Regions from separate parts of the Homo sapiens genome. Here all the other regions are linked to region 1. The links are contacts of gene promoters, found by promoter capture Hi-C in blood cells and fetal thymus (Javierre and others, 2016). All regions are on one chromosome and are shown on one strand. Each heading gives the region's core, a stretch centred on a gene start or on the middle of the fragment in contact. The rest is flanking DNA. Distances are from core to core; before and after follow the strand shown.

Evidence for each region. Contacts are between HindIII fragments. The CHiCAGO score rates a contact against its expected background, and 5 or more counts as called.
Region 2: a fragment that was not itself captured here is called in contact with the fragment with the promoter of FKBP3 in region 1 in 1 of 17 cell types (non-activated CD4 T cells); the score reaches 5.9 in non-activated CD4 T cells.
Region 3: a contact is called between a fragment that was not itself captured here and the fragment with the promoter of FKBP3 in region 1, in 4 of 17 cell types (total B cells, naive CD4 T cells, total CD4 T cells and 1 more). The highest score is 8.3, in total B cells.

Annotation. Positions count from the first base shown.
Region 1 is chr14:45,132,415-45,137,505 of GRCh38, reverse strand. It overlaps FKBP3 (FKBP prolyl isomerase 3), which reads left to right and starts at 3,025. Exons shown (of 7, transcript NM_002013.4): 1 at 3,025-3,157. The coding sequence starts at 3,050. FANCM (FA complementation group M) reads right to left here and starts at 1,576. Exons shown (of 23, transcript NM_020937.4): 1 at 967-1,576; 2 at 265-437. The coding sequence starts at 1,474. RefSeq lists enhancers at 1,373-1,422, 2,085-2,955, 3,049-3,268, 2,956-3,827 and a silencer at 2,902-3,079. The HindIII fragment of the contact is 3,907 bases long and covers 428-4,334 here.
Region 2 is chr14:44,826,346-44,831,436 of GRCh38, reverse strand. No RefSeq gene overlaps it. Among named protein-coding and RNA genes, the nearest start is that of LINC02302, 30 kb to the right of the region's middle. The HindIII fragment of the contact is 2,175 bases long and covers 1,557-3,731 here.
Region 3 is chr14:44,865,904-44,870,994 of GRCh38, reverse strand. It overlaps the pseudogene DOCK11P1. Among named protein-coding and RNA genes, the nearest start is that of DORIP1, 29 kb to the left of the region's middle. The HindIII fragment of the contact is 1,478 bases long and covers 1,681-3,158 here.

The sequences.
Region 1 (5,091 bases), core at 1,776-4,275:
ACATCTGACACTAATTATCTGGTTAGTCTTAAAATAGAAGAAAAGAAAAAGAAAACAACAATAACAGCAAAAGGCAGTGAAGACACTGATTTGAATGGATGACAGAAAGTACAGATATTCTTTATCACCATCTGTTCTGAGATAATAGACGTAAAGGCTTTTTATAATAATATTGTCAATAACTTCCATCACTAGTAACTATTCGCCAAAATTCTCTTTAACAGTACAGTTACAATACAAAATACCGTTTAACAAAATTATTACCTGGCAATAAGCATAGTTTCCGAGAGCTTTATGAGCTTCATCAATAACTAAACACTTTATTTCAGCAGCGGGACAAGCTCCTCTAGAAAGGTCATTTACCATGACCTGAGGTGTAAGAAAAAGCACTCTCTTACTGCACCATATTTCCTTCCTGGTGGAAGCTTGTGTAGACCCTGAAAATAAAAGTGACATTCTACATTCTAAACTTCAGACTGTTATCTATAAAATATAAATAGTCTGGCTTTTTCAGAATGCAAACATGCTTTGGTAACATTAAGAGAAAAACAATTTGACAATTCATCGGAATGCTACATTTTAAAGTTCTGGTGTGGTCCAAATATCAAAGCTGGCACTTATCTAGGACTACAACCAAATTGTCTTTAGAAAATTCCTACAAAATGGCATATTTGAAGAGAGGCAAATTCTTCAACTGAGAAATCTTTTTCAGGAAGAATGCCAGGAAATATCATGTTCAGTTACCCATGGGGTATACGCACATAATAGCTTCAAAATACTATGACAAGCTGCAGATATTCTCTGAAGATTGAATAAAGCAACCCTATTCATCAGTTTTGGGCTTGCTGCAAGTAGAGAATGTTTTAAGAGGGAGGGCGTAAGATGCACATGTTGTAGCTTGGGAACTATTCCACATGGGTCAGGAATTCCCAGCTCTTACTTCAAAATTAGTCCAGTCTAAGATACCTGTCATTTCGGCCATGTGGGATTGCGGGATACCCATCACCTGGTAGCAAGCCTCGATCTGCTGTGTCACCAAGGGTTTCGTTGGGGCCATGAAGACCACCTTTCCTGAAGGGAACCAGCGGTAGAAATTGTACATGACCACGGCGGCAATAAAGGTCTTTCCCAGTCCGGTAGGCAGACACACCAGCGTATTGCAAAACAGAGCAGCCCGGGAAATGTGCAGCTGGTAGTCCCGCACTGGGCAATTGGTAGGGTAAATCCACAGGGCGCCCGCGGAGGTGCAGAACCCGCCATTCTCTAGACACAACTGCCGCTCAGCCTCGTACGCCGCGACAAGCAACACATCATCGTCCGACTCCAGCTGAGCCTCCGCTGCTGCTGGCAAAGGCGCCTTGGAGCTGCCAGGGCTCTGAGGTCGCTCAGTTCCGGAGCTGCAACCCGGAGTCCCAGATGATCGGGAGATACTTGAGCCCCACGTCTGAAAAAGCGTTCTTTGCCGTCCGCTCATTAGGCCGACAACCACCGAAGGCTTCTGTCAGATATCCGTAGCAGCAGCAGCTCAACCGCTACGGTTCCGATCCCCATCGGTTTCCTTCGCACAAAACTCTGGAACGAGAAGGCGGGACTAAGGCCAGTTTATCCAGTTGAAAATGCCGCTACTGAGTTTCCGTTGGGAATGATTGGCTGGCTTCCCGGAAACCTTCACAGCCCTGCCGGAGACTCATGCGCATTATTAAGGCGTTACTCTAAATATGGTCCCCGGTGCGGTTCCGGTGTTTTGTTTTAACAAACTCTAAATTTAAGTTCCGTTTCCAATGATTAGATGGCTGGGCGTCATTGCTAACGTGATAAATCACTTAAAATGTTATAATAGAGATTTATTGTAAAATATTACATACCCGGGGACAATGGAATAGCCACCAGTTTGGGAACTTAATGTTATTGAGCGTCTAACGTGCCTCATTCCTTGTACTTTTAAATCAGAATATAAAGTGAAAAGCAAAAATGTGTAGATGGAATAATTTGTCTTATATCTCTATCTGGGCTGAGAAAACAAAATGCCAAGTCTCTTTTTCACCGCGCTGGGAGTGGCAACCCATTATTTTAATATTTTCATTGTTTAAAGGGAAGTGAACGTGGTCTGGTCCAGCTATTCGTCAGAATTTTTTTTTTTAATGCTCCTTGCAAAGCAGAGCTAACTCATAGGCAACATGCCCAGAGTCAGCCTACATTTTTTTAAGTAAGGAGTCCTGATGTTCAACTATTAAATCTTTATTATAGGTAAGAGCATTATAATAAACGTCGGTGTGCAATTATTCCACTCTAACGAAGATTTCTGTCTCAAATAATTCCTGACTTCTCTCTAAACCTGACTTTGAGTAACCTCTGTAAATTTGTTTCCTCGTGTACTGAGAAAAAAATATACATCACAGAGTTACGAGCATTAATAATGTCATTCTCATCAGCAAGTGGCATCCTGAGTGCGGCTTCTTTATAAATTGTTTTATTTGTTAAAGTTTCTGAACTTCGTTTTGGACAAACTTTCTCGTATTTGTATGGGGGGAAGGGGATGGGCAGTTTGTATTTAAGTTTCGGTTGTGTGATCTTTAAAAGGGAAATGGTGGGATATGGGTTTTCGGATCGACAAGGACTGAAGCACTTCAGGTGTGACTTTTTAGGCTAGAACTAGATAAAACGAGATAAGGAGCCTGAATGCTGTTTTCTTTTAACAGGTTATAGACTGGACTTTAAAGGCATAGCTGCCTTAAATGTGGGTAATGGTTGATAAATGTCGCTACCATCAGAGGTCGCTTCACAAGGTGTCTAATTCAGAATCGAAGATCTCTAGCGGTCTTCTACTCAGTCGACTGCAGAGACGACCGCGGTAGGTTTTTCAACCCGGACTCAACAAAGAAGCCCTCATAGCACAGCCTTGACGTCACTCAAAGACAGGCCCCAATCCCGACTGCTAGAGCAGAGGCCCGCCCCTCGACCTCCGTGAGTGGCCCCGCCCCGCCCTAGGGGGCGGGGCGATGCCGAACTGCGGCGGGCTGGCTCAGTAAAGCGGAGGCAGCGGGGGAAGATGGCGGCGGCCGTTCCACAGCGGGCGTGGACCGTGGAGCAGCTGCGCAGTGAGCAGCTGCCCAAGAAGGACATTATCAAGTTTCTGCAGGAACACGGTTCAGATTCGGTACCAGAGGCGTAGGGGCGGCCGGGCTGGTGCGGCTGAGGGACGCCTCACCCCCCTGGAGATGCCCATACATTCCGTATTCCTCTGTGCCCCCGCCCTCGTCTTCCCGCGGCCGGTGGCCTGGAAGGCCGGAGAGGCCCAGCTTGTGCTTTGGTGCCTCGCTCCCGCCTCTCGGGCGTTCTCTACTGGGGCAGGGGAGCAGCTTTATTTCTTGGGGCACACAGGCTGCAATTGTAGAGTTAGAACCTCATTGGGATCCTTGAGTGGGGGTGGAGGCCAGAAAAATAGGAACCCGAGGATATTGGGGGCTAGGGCGGAGAGGCCGAGGAATAGTGGTGTGGATGAGACTCCTGGGAGCGGGGCGCCGGCTACTAGGGAAATGGGAAGGGATGTGAAGATTTCTGTGGGAACGGTGTATCCAACTTGCTTTTCTCAACAGTTTACTAAATACTGAACATTAATGCGTGTGATTTTTAAAAAATCCGTAGGTTGTGGTTTAAGTTTTGATTTAACATATCGACCCTTTAAATGACCTTTTCACCTTTATACTTTAAGGGAGCTACATGCACATTTCTCTTGTGCAGTGGTCTGTCATTGTTATAAACAGACTAAGAAATTTATTTGAAATGCTTTATACTGTAGGCTCTCCATTTGTCAGCATAGTCTCCATCTTAACCATCCGTCTATAGTCAAGTTATTTTTGTTACACTTGTTTTTCCTTTGGAAAATAAGTTCATTCATGCACCTGTTAAATTGCTGAAATAGTTGTGCACGCAGCATTCTCTTACAAGCGGCAGCCTGCTTGTGTTTTCTATACAATTTTTAAAATTCTAAACTTTTCATTTAGAAAAACTGTTTCTGGGTTTTTTTGTTTGTTTGTTTGAGACGGAGTCTCTCTCTGTTGCCCAGGCTGGAGTGCAGTGGCGCGATCTCGGCTCACTGCAACCTCCGCCTCCCGGGTTCAAACGATTCTCCTGCCTCTGCCTCTCGAGTAGCTAGGACTACAGGCGCGTGCCACCACGCCAGGTTAATTTTTTGTATTTTTAATAGAGACGGGATTTCACCGTGTTAGTCAGGATGGTCTCGATCTCCTGACCTCGTGATCCGCCCGCCTCGGCCTCCCAAAGTGCTGGGATTACAGGCGTGAGCCACTATTTCTGGGTTATTTTGAGAAGCTTATATTTTATTTTCATTTTGGGCGGGCGTCATGACAGGGAGATAGAAGAACTCTCCAACTTCCAGTGCCTTCTTCCTTAATTATTATCCTGGCATCCGCATCTTAGATTAATTTAGCAGATATTAATACAACATCTGTAACAAGAACTATTCTCAGTGTTTGGAGGTACAAGGGTGAAAAAGAACATGTGTCGGGGATCTTACCCCATTTTAATGGAACTATTTTCTCTTAAGCCAATTCGTATTTCATCTGAAACAATAGAATAGACATCATTAACATTTAATAATACCTCAGTCATGTACTTCATCCATCATATTCTTATGAAACAAATCATGCCATGTGGAATCGTATGTAAAACTGGGCCACGTGGAAGAATTTCAACAGACTTGGATTATCAAAATGTTTTTATAACATTAATCTTTTAAATGCATAGTCTCGGTCGGTCGTGGTGGCTCATTCCTGTAATCCTAGCACTTTCGGAGGCCAAAGCGGGCGGATCACGAGGTCAGGAGATCGAGACCATCCTGACTAACAGTTGAGGCCAGGCATTGAGGACCAGCCTGGCCAACGTAGCGAAACCTCATTTCTACTAAAAATACAAAAAAAATTAGCTGGGCCTGGTGGTGGGCGCCTCTAATCCCAGCTGTTCGGGAGGCTGAGGCAGGAGAATCGTTTCAACCCAAGAGGGGGAGGTTGCAGTGGGCCGAGATTGGGCCACTGCACTCCAGCCTGGGCGACAGAGCTAGACTCTGTCTCA
Region 2 (5,091 bases), core at 1,395-3,894, 310 kb after region 1:
GGATTAGTTGTGTTTATGTCTGCTATCCTCAATTTTCTCATTTCTCCTTGGACAAGCAGCTACCTAGGGGTGTTATTTTTCTCATGGCAAATCACAGCAGCACAAAAGCACAAGTCAAACTACAAAAGCCCATTTAAGGTATCTGCTCATTTCACATCCACTGACATTCATTGGCCAAAACATGGCCAATATCAAAGGGGCAGGAAAGTGTTTTTCACCCACAGTGGGAGGGCACTAGCAAGTGACATAGCAAAGGGCATGGATGTATAATCCTATTATGGGGAGCATTTGGGACCAATGTCCAATCAACTTCTAGATGGGAGTGGGACATTGAGAGAACGTGAATCATATTGGGTGGAGAAGAGGGTACTTTAAGAGCGAACATTAACTATTATGCATGGTGCACAGTGTGAAAGTCCGGGACAGCGGCATGAGGGGTTCAGGTCAGAGGGTGGGCAAGCTACAAAGGAAAGTAACTTTCTCTCACTCCTTTTTTCTAAGCCCAAGGAAGACTGTCTATTTTGCAACTTTATTTATGGCTGTCCCAGCAATTAAGGGGGACACTCAGAAAGAACAATGGCAGTACAAGACCCTGGGGTCCATTTTGAACCATTGCATTGTCACAACGCAGACTAGTAGTAGGTTAGGGTTTTGGGTCACTGCTTATTCTCAGCAGATTTTATGACATTCATTAAAATCCTGGCTTGAATCTCCTTCATTGCAGCACAAACAATATTCTAAGTAGCTTTCCTAAAAATCCCACTGCTCATAGCAGCGAGAATGCTTCTTAATTTAAGGACTGTATTTTGGATCAGTGTCCAGCCATTGGTTCCATTGGGGTTTTGACAAGACTATTTCTGGGAAAAGCCTACCATATTATTGTCTCAGCTGCTACAGACATTATGAAGTTATAACAATATTAATAGCATTTTACAGACTTCTTGTTTGTAGACTAGGGGAGATATGTTAGCCTTTGCAGAGGAGGGGAGGAAATTGAAAAGATGAGTCAGAGCCAGATGAGAAAAGGGTTGGGATGCAATGACAAGAAATTTTGACTTTATGTAGGATTATTCAGAGAAGAAAAGAGGAGGAAGTGAAATGCTAAGACTGATTTTTTTTTTAAAAGATAGATTTGATAGCATGAGAAGAATGGATTTGAAAGGCGATAATGGAAAGGATGCAGAGGCACCAATTTGGAATTTACTGTGATGTTTTAGGCAATAGATGGTAAGAGCAATCACATTCTCATTCCTGGGGCACCCATTTTCTGATATCCTTTTGAGACCATCTGTTCCTAACATTCCCTAGCACTTCCAATTCGAAAACAACAAAATTCTGGAAGGCTTTAGCTGGAAGTACCATCTGATTTTTAGATTTATGCTATTTTTTAAGATGTTTCCTAAAATGCCTGGCAAAAATAGGTGCTCAGTGTTTGCTAAATTAAAAAAAATTGACTTCTATAAACAAAGTGCTTACTTTCTCTCTCTTTCTCTTTGGTTGTTGTTTATGGAAAGACAAAAAAGTACCTTGTAGTATACTCAAGAAGAAAGAAAGCTTGTCAAGGCTCCAGTCTATAAGGGGTAAAAAAAAAATGCCTTTGTTTTTGCTTGCTGTAGGTTTTAGCATCTTGTCTATAATGGCCATGTACCACCTTCAGGTCCAGGGAAGGGAAGAGTAGTGTGCTGTGCAAGAGGCAGATTTGCTGAGAGCTGTTCAGGCACACCTGGAATCATATTCAATTCAGGCTAAAGCAGTATATTTCACACCATTCGCAGGTCAGTGTGTGGCAAAAAAAGCATAGCTTCTCTCTTTTATTTTATTTTTTATTTTAAGTTGCAGGGTACATGTGCAAGATGTGCAGGTTTGTTACATAGGTAAATATGTGTCATGGTGATTTGTTGCACCTATCGACCCATCACCTAGGTATTAAGCCCAGCATGCATTAGCTATTTTTCCTGAGAATATAGCTTCTCTGTTTTATGTAACTTGTTTGAAGGCCTGAGGCCAACCCTGAGATTTGGCAGAAATGTCTGCTTCAGGACCCTCTAATTTTAAAAGGTATTCTTCGTACTGGGCAGTGCTTATTGCAGGCTTAGTATTCCAGCTTTTCCCTGGTGCTCTTGGCTGGGTCTGTGTGCAAATGCCACTGCTGCACTGGATTAAGGTCTGCTGAAGGGTGCCTACTGTCTCTTTATAAAGAGATTGTAGATGCCTATGAGGATCTGGTCTCCCATTTCAAAGGGTCTATTGTTCTTTTACATCTTTCCTTCTTACTTTCCATCCCTGAATGTGAGCTTGAATGTGTCTCCTTTGGTCATCCTTAGATTTTGTCTGTCTTAGTCCATCTGGGTTGCTATAACAGAATATCATAGATTGGGTGGTTTAACAACAACAAATACTTATTTCTCACAGTTCTGGAGACTGGGAAATCCAAGATCAAGGCACTGGATGATTCTGTGTCTGCTGAGGGCACCCTTGCTGGTTTATAGATTCCTGTCTTATCACTGTATTCTCACATGACAGAAAGGGCAAGGGAGCTCTCTTGGGGTCTCTTTTATAAAGGCATTAATCCTATTCATGAGTTCTCTGCTCTCATGACTTAATCACCTCCCAAAGGCCTTGCTTCCAAATACCGTCATATTAGGGATTAGGTTTCAACATACAAATTTTAGAGGGACACACACATTCAGTTTGTAGCAGACTAATTAATCCTGTATTGGGTATTGTGGGAAAGAAGGACCTGTGCCCCAATTTTGAACTTTCGTGGGCCTTGGGAAGTTGTCGTTTTGTTTCTCTGCTTCACCACCTTGATTCACCTTAGTTTTTGTGTCTTTTGCTATGTAAACTAAGAACCTAATTTTATGGAGTAAAATCATTTACATCAGCTCCACAAAGGTTAGAAGAGTATTGCAAAGCATAACCTTGACAGCTTTGCCCACATTTTTGGCTGCACTTTGGAAACTGGAAGGGATTCCAACTGAAGAGCCTCCAAATGTCAGTTCCTCGCTCAATATCCTAATCCATTTTCTCTAGTCCTGTGACAAGACCCAATTTCTAGTCTGTATCTCTTGGTCCTGCTCCTAGGTGCCATTTTTTTTCCCTCTCATATTTATATTGAAGTGCTCCAATAGCTGTCTTATAAGCTGCTTGCATGAGATTGCACTGCTCTGGCTCTTTAACGCATTCTCTGAAACAGAGGTCATTGAGTATAACATCAGGAAATAGAAAGTGAAGTCAGTGGCTTCATTCTTAGTGGCAGCATATGTGTGATGGGAAAGCATTTCAGGGTATTAATCTATGCACCCAAGGGATCATCCATCAAATTATTTCACTTGTGACCTAAAGATCTTTTTCCTCCCCTGGTCCTCTCAGACAGACATGGGTCACCCAGAAACACAGTCTGTAAACACATCATTATTAGGCTAAAGAAAAGTTGATGGCCTAAGCAGGAATGATTTGAAAGCACACTTTCAGAGTTTTTCTACTTTTGGTTAAATGATGCCTTGGGTGGAAAAGAGTAGGAGAAGAAGGGCAGGATCTATGCAGATATTAGTGTACACTGGGGTGGTGTTTCTGAGGCAGGACCAAATGGTTTACAGTCCATTCATTAGCATGTATTCAAAATACTCAATGACTTATTCCATTCGTTCATGATATTTGAACTCCATTCACATATGAAGCAAGGATGACTTTTTGGTTTTACGTAGTTCATGGCTGCTAAGAATAAAGCTTAGGCGGGTAGTAGCTCAGGCTGTCAGTCATACTGCCTTACCTTGGGTCCCCAAGATTGGAAACATTCCAACTTGTTTCCCCTTGAGCATTCTAAATTGTTTCCCTTTTGTTGCTGAGTATAGTATAAATTGCCAAGGGTAGAGCTGGCACAGAGATTATTTACATTTCTGTTGTTACATCTATTTGATAAATTCTTTCATACTATTCTTTGCTGGTTTAAATTTATACATTTCTAACTTAATTTATTATAATTCTCTTATAATAATGTGTAGGAATGTAGGGGTGATTATTACCATAACTCTGTAATTCAGCTCTCTTAAGCTATTGCTAGTGAAGCCAATTTAAAGAATGATAGAAAGATGTGTTACATTAACTTTACCTATAATTATCTTCTTTTTTTTTTTGACTGAGTCTCGCTCTGTCGCCCAGGCTGGAGTGCAGTGGTGCAATCTCGGCTCACTGCAAACTCTGCCTCCCAGGTTCACGCCCTTCTCCTGCCTCAGCCTCCTAGTAGCTGGGATTACAAGCCCCTGCCACCACGTCCACCTAATTTTTTTGTATTGTTAGTAGAGATGGGGTTTCACCATATTGGCCAGGCTGGTCTCAACTCCTGACCTCAGGTGAGGTCTCCCAAAGTGCTAGGATTACAGGCATGAGCCACTGTGCCCGGCCTCTTTCTAAAAATATTTAAAGAGATAAGATCTTTACTTGGAGTAGTAACTGTGGAAGCGTCATTCGGGGAATAGTAATTTCATTCCTAGGACTTAAATAACCCAGATAATCTCACAAATTTTTCTCCAAATTTGTAAATAATATAGTAGAATAAACATTTAAATTAGCCCAGATTACTACAAGTGAAATAATAGCTTTACGTTTTCTTTGGGTCAACCAGTGGGGAATCTTTACCATTGCTAACACTTTGTTTTGTACCTGGATTAATACCAGGGGTGGTGGTGGAGGTGAAACAATCTATTTATTTCTAAGCAAAACCAAAAAGCAATATGACCATCTAAGGTAGAATTTAAGAACTTGTTGAGGCTTGTTTTATTGATCCAGTCTGAAGAATCTTAGGCCACAGTTCTGGAGTGCCTTTTTAAGTTCTGGGATACATGTGCAGGATGTGCAGGTTTGTTACATGGGTAAACATGTGCCATGATGGTTTGCTGCATCTATCAACCTATCACCTAGTTATTAAGCCCCACATGCATTAGCTATTTATCCTGATACTCTCCCTCCCCCTGTACCCCTGACAAGCCCCAGTTTGTGTTGTTTCTCTCCGTGTCCATGTGTTCTCATTGTACAGCTACCATGAGAACATGTGGTGTTTAGTTTTCTGTTCCTGTGTTAGTTTGCTGAGAA
Region 3 (5,091 bases), core at 1,170-3,669, 270 kb after region 1:
GCTTTTACACTGTTGGTGGGAGTGCAAATTTGTTCAACCATAGTGGAAGACAGCGTGGTGACTCCTCAAGGATCTAGAACTAGAAATACCATTTGACCCAGTAATCCCATTACTGCGTTTATACCCAAAGGATTATAAATCATTGTACTATAAAGGCACATGCACAGGTATGTTTGTTGCAGCACTATTCACAATAGCAAAGTCTTGGAACCAACCCAAATGCCCATCAATGATAGACTGGATAAAGAAAATGTGGCACATATACACCATGGAGTACTATGCAGCCATAAAAAAGGATGAGTTCATGTCCTTTTCAGGGACATGGATGAAACTGGAAACCATCATTCTCAGCAAGGTAACACAAGAACAGAAAACAAAACACCGTGTGTTCTCACTCATAAGTGGGAGTTGAACAGTGAAAGCACATGGACACAGGGAGGGGAACATCACACACCGGGGCCTGTCGGGGTGGCGAAAGGATAGCATTAGGAGAAATACCTAGTGTAAATAATGAGTTAATGGGTGCAGCAAACCAACATGGCACATGTGTACCTATGTAACAAACCTGCACGTTGTGCACATGTACCCCAGAACTTAAAGTACAAAAAAAAAAAAAAAAAAGAAAACCACAGTGAGATAGCTCTTTACACCTATCAGAGTCACTGAAGTAAAAAATAATGACAACAACAACAACAACAAAATCTCTTCCTAATGATTGTTCTTTTATGAGCAACCACTGATGGAGTCATATCTCACATAGAGTATAGTCTTTCCCAAAAGCATTTTATAGACCAGGGGACAGTGCCAGGTTGAGATACAACCAACTGGTTACAGGGTAAGATTCTTTTCCCAGAACCCAGCACCTGGTACAGCTGGATTCTAAGATACACAGATAGGTCCAGCCTGAGACACATGAGCCAAGACCACTTTATGGAGGGCCCCAATACTGTACTTTTATCCCCAAATGCAAATATAAAAACTTCTGACCTATTTCAGCTATTTTTTTTTTTTTTTTGAGACGGAGTCTTGCTGGGTTGCCCAGGCTGGAGTGCAGTGGTGCGATCTTGGCTCACTGCAAGCTCCGCCCCTTGGGTTCACACCATTCTCCTGCCTCAGCCTCCCAAGTAGCTGGGACTACAGGTGCCCACCGCCACACCCGGCTAATTTTTTTGTGTTTTTAGTAGAGACAGGGTTTCACTGTATTAGCCAGGATGGTCTCAATCTTCTGACCTCGTGATCCACTTGCCTCGGCCTCCCAAAGTGCTGGGATTATAGGTGTGAGCCACCGCACCTGGCCTATTGGAGCTAAATTTTTAACAGGGGTTTTGTAGGACTCGACACATGTTGCGCAGTACAGCAAAACTCAAAGTGCAAGCTTGCCAGCAAGCAGAGGAAATATCCTACATGCTAGGTGCAGTGGTTTGTACCCAGTTAAGACAAGAACAAGAGAAGGAAGATCCCTAGTGGTGGTGGTCAACATTGATACAGTCTGGCTCACAGCATCAACTTTTGTGACTACTCCATAGGTACAGGCTAGATTACCACTCAAAATTTGATTTAGATGTCAAGACTGATGATCACACACACACATACACACACACACACACACACACACCTCAACAGTGTGAAAAAGTTTTATTATGAGGATTTTGGATGAAAGCAGGGAAGGCTTCTCAAGCTTGTCTGAAAATGGATTGAAAGGCAAGGAAAGGAGACTGGCTAGAGATTTCTATTGTGGGGGATTGGGCCAGGGCGAGGGTTCCTGCAGACAAACAGGAGCTTATGTGTTTCAATTTCAATCCCCTGATGACACTAAAGGTGACAGCATCTGAGCTTTATCAGCTTTCCCAGACATGTGGAAGAAGGGAAGAGTCATGGATAGGCTTAAAAGTTATTTGCAGTCGAACATCAAAAAATGGAATTAGACTCTATTACATTTTAGCTCTCAAATTTAGGTCTTTGATCTTTTTGAGTTAATTTTCTATATAGTGTGAGATAGGAGTACAATTTTATTCTTTTGCATGTGGATATCCATTTGTCCCAGCACCATTTTTTGAAGAGAATATTCTTTCAATTTAACTGAAAAGCCCAGCAACAGGGAGTATCATTTGCTTGCCCAAGCATTAATAATGCGGTATTTTATTTCTTATTTGGCTATGAGTCCTATGTGCATTGGTACTCATAGCCTGTGCATAACCTCACTCATAGCCTTGAAAACCTAGGGCAGATATCCTGCAGAAAAACCCATTGCTTATTTGCTTATCTGGAGTTTTAAGCATGGATTTTAAGCTACTGAGTTTTATCTATTCTTGAGATTCTACAATTCACCTTAGGCTCATCTTGGTAAAAACTGATTCTGGAATTTTGCCTGAGGCTGCTGAATGTCGTGGATGATCCTTTGAGTTTTGCAGTTTCTCCTTTTCCCAGTTATTTCCCCTAGAAACTACTGGGCAGATCACTTACCAGGTCCTGGCTCTTTCTCCTTCCTATGTTGCTGCAGATGGACCTTCCTACCTGTGCTCCAATTTTAAACAATACTGTCAATAGATAACATTTACCAAATACCACACTGAACTAAGAACTTCTAACATGTGGACTAAATGCCAACCACTGTGGGGGCCTGATTCCTGAATATCCATATAATGTTGTCTCAAATCTTTATTTTACTTCCTGTGGAAACACAAAGTGGTTCCCATGATTGCAGATCCTTGTGGTTCTTTATATTCCTCTACACTGTCTGCTGAATTAGAACGATTTATGGATTATCTTGCTATTTCACATGTGTTCTTTCCTTCATGACAGTTACCCAGGGGTGACTCAACTGCTCACTCTCACTGTCATTTTTATGTGTAGTTGAGTTTACTCAAAAATTGGGATGGGTTCAGAGGGATTTATATGTTAGCAATGCAAAAAGCTCTAATTAAACACTGGACATTCTCATTTCCTAGAAGACCTTTGACAACCTCAGATCTATGAATTTTTTTCTAAAACTTTTTGTTTGGAGATAATTTCCAACTTATAGGAAAGTTGCAAAAATATTACAAAGTGTTCCTGTGCATCTATGGTTTGCCAAGTCCAGCGGGTGCCTGCAATGATTGGTTATAAATTTGTTATTTTTCTAAGCCACATTTCCTTCTTTAGGAACAGGGTTCTAAGCTTAAGTCCAGAGTAATGAGAACATATTTAAGATTAAACATTCTATTTAAAGTAGGTTAACGGAGTAGGAAGGCATCACAGCCCATCTTTCCCTGGATTTGTCTTATCCAGAATGTGCAGTTTTGCTTCTAATAGATTTCTCCACTTTTATCCTTGGAGTGAATTGAATCATCTAAGGAGGAGAGGGTACAGAGGTGAGAGGAGAAATGCTGGGACTATATACCTCCTCTTCTGTTCATTGATGGTAGAGAACTCCTAGCCTGGTGATATATCCCAATTACTCCCTGATTAATGAATCTTCTGGGATTGATGGGTAAAGAACTAACAGTTTTTTGAGAACCTGGCAGTCACTGAATTATAGATTCTATGTTTGAAAATGTAGACAGACTGGAGATCTTTTGTATGAAGTCTCTATTTAAAAAGAACCTCAAGTCCAGAGCTCTATCTGAAAAAAACAGTTGTTCCTCTGCTGTCTTGGGTATTAGAGGAGCTGACATCAGCAAGATGGCAGAATATGAGTTTCTGGCACTCATCCCCTTGAAGAAACATCAATTTGAACAACCACGCATGTACAAAAATACCTTTGTAAGAGCCAAGGAATCCAGATGAGAGATTACAGCACCTGGGTAGAGCACGGATATAAGAAAAGGCATATTTAAGAGGGTAGGAAGGACAGTTTCATGTTGCCAGCATCACTGCTCCCCCAAACCTAAACAGTGCAGTGCAGAAAGAGACCCATCACATGAGGGAAAGAGAGTGTAGTGAGCAGACTTCACTGTGGATCCCAGCACCAGGTCTGGTCCAGTGAACACGGGCACAAGGCCAGCCCCTATGGTCTCAGGCTTCAGGTCAGTCCCTGCAGCCCCAGACCCAAGGCCTGCTCCAGCATCAGGCTGGCATCTGTGGTCCCAAACTCTAGGCCCATTCCTGTGGTTGGAAGGCTCCAGACCTGCCCCAGTACCAGGGAGGCCCATGGGGCAATAGCCTCCAGATCATCCCTAAAGCCATATGCTCCAATGGACTTAGAGTATAGGCTAGCTCCATTAGACACTGGCTCCAGGCCTATCCCCCAAAACCCAGTCTCCAGGCCTGCCCTCATAGTCCCAGGTACCAGGCCTGTTCCTATAGACACAGGTACTAAGCCTACCCCAAGGTATCCTGGGTAAACTGTGACACCCAGCCAGCTCCTGAGGACTCAGGAAGAGGCCCATGTCCACAGACCCAGACATCAGCCCTGCCGCAGTGCCAGGTCAGTCTGTGTGGACCCAGGCTTTGGGCTGGTCTTAGTGATCCCAGACTCCATGCCTGCTCCTTTAGGCCCAAGGGCCAAGCCAGCCCCTACAGACCCAGGCTCCAGGCTTACCACTGCAGACTCAGGCACCAGGCCCATCCACGCAGACTCAGGCCCCAGATCTTTTCCAGTAGACATAGGCAGCAGGCTGGCCCCTGTGAACTCAGACTGCAGGACTGTCTACTTGCTGACCAAGGAACAGGGCCAGCTCACTTTTCACTTATATAAAAATTAAATGATATATTAAAAAAAACAATAGCTACAATAATTTGTTAATAGATACATGACATATAAAAGATGTAAATTGGGCACAGCAGCTGAACTCTGGCAGAGTGTCAGAGGCCGTGTGGGGCTCCTTGGTGCTGGAAAAGTCCAAAGTTGTTGACCCCCTGGACTATGAGAATGTTATCGCCCAAATAAAAACCCAGATTTACAGCAACCCCCTCAGAGATCTGCTTATGTTTCCCAAGGAAGATATATCTGTCTCGGTGATGGGTCGTCAGCACAGAACGGTGCAATCCACTGTACCAGAAGACGAAAAGAGGGCCCAGAGTTTATTTGTCAAAGAGTGTATTAAAACCTGTAGCACAGATTGGCACGTGGTAAACTTTGAGACCAGAAAAAATTCCTAATCACGTATTTGA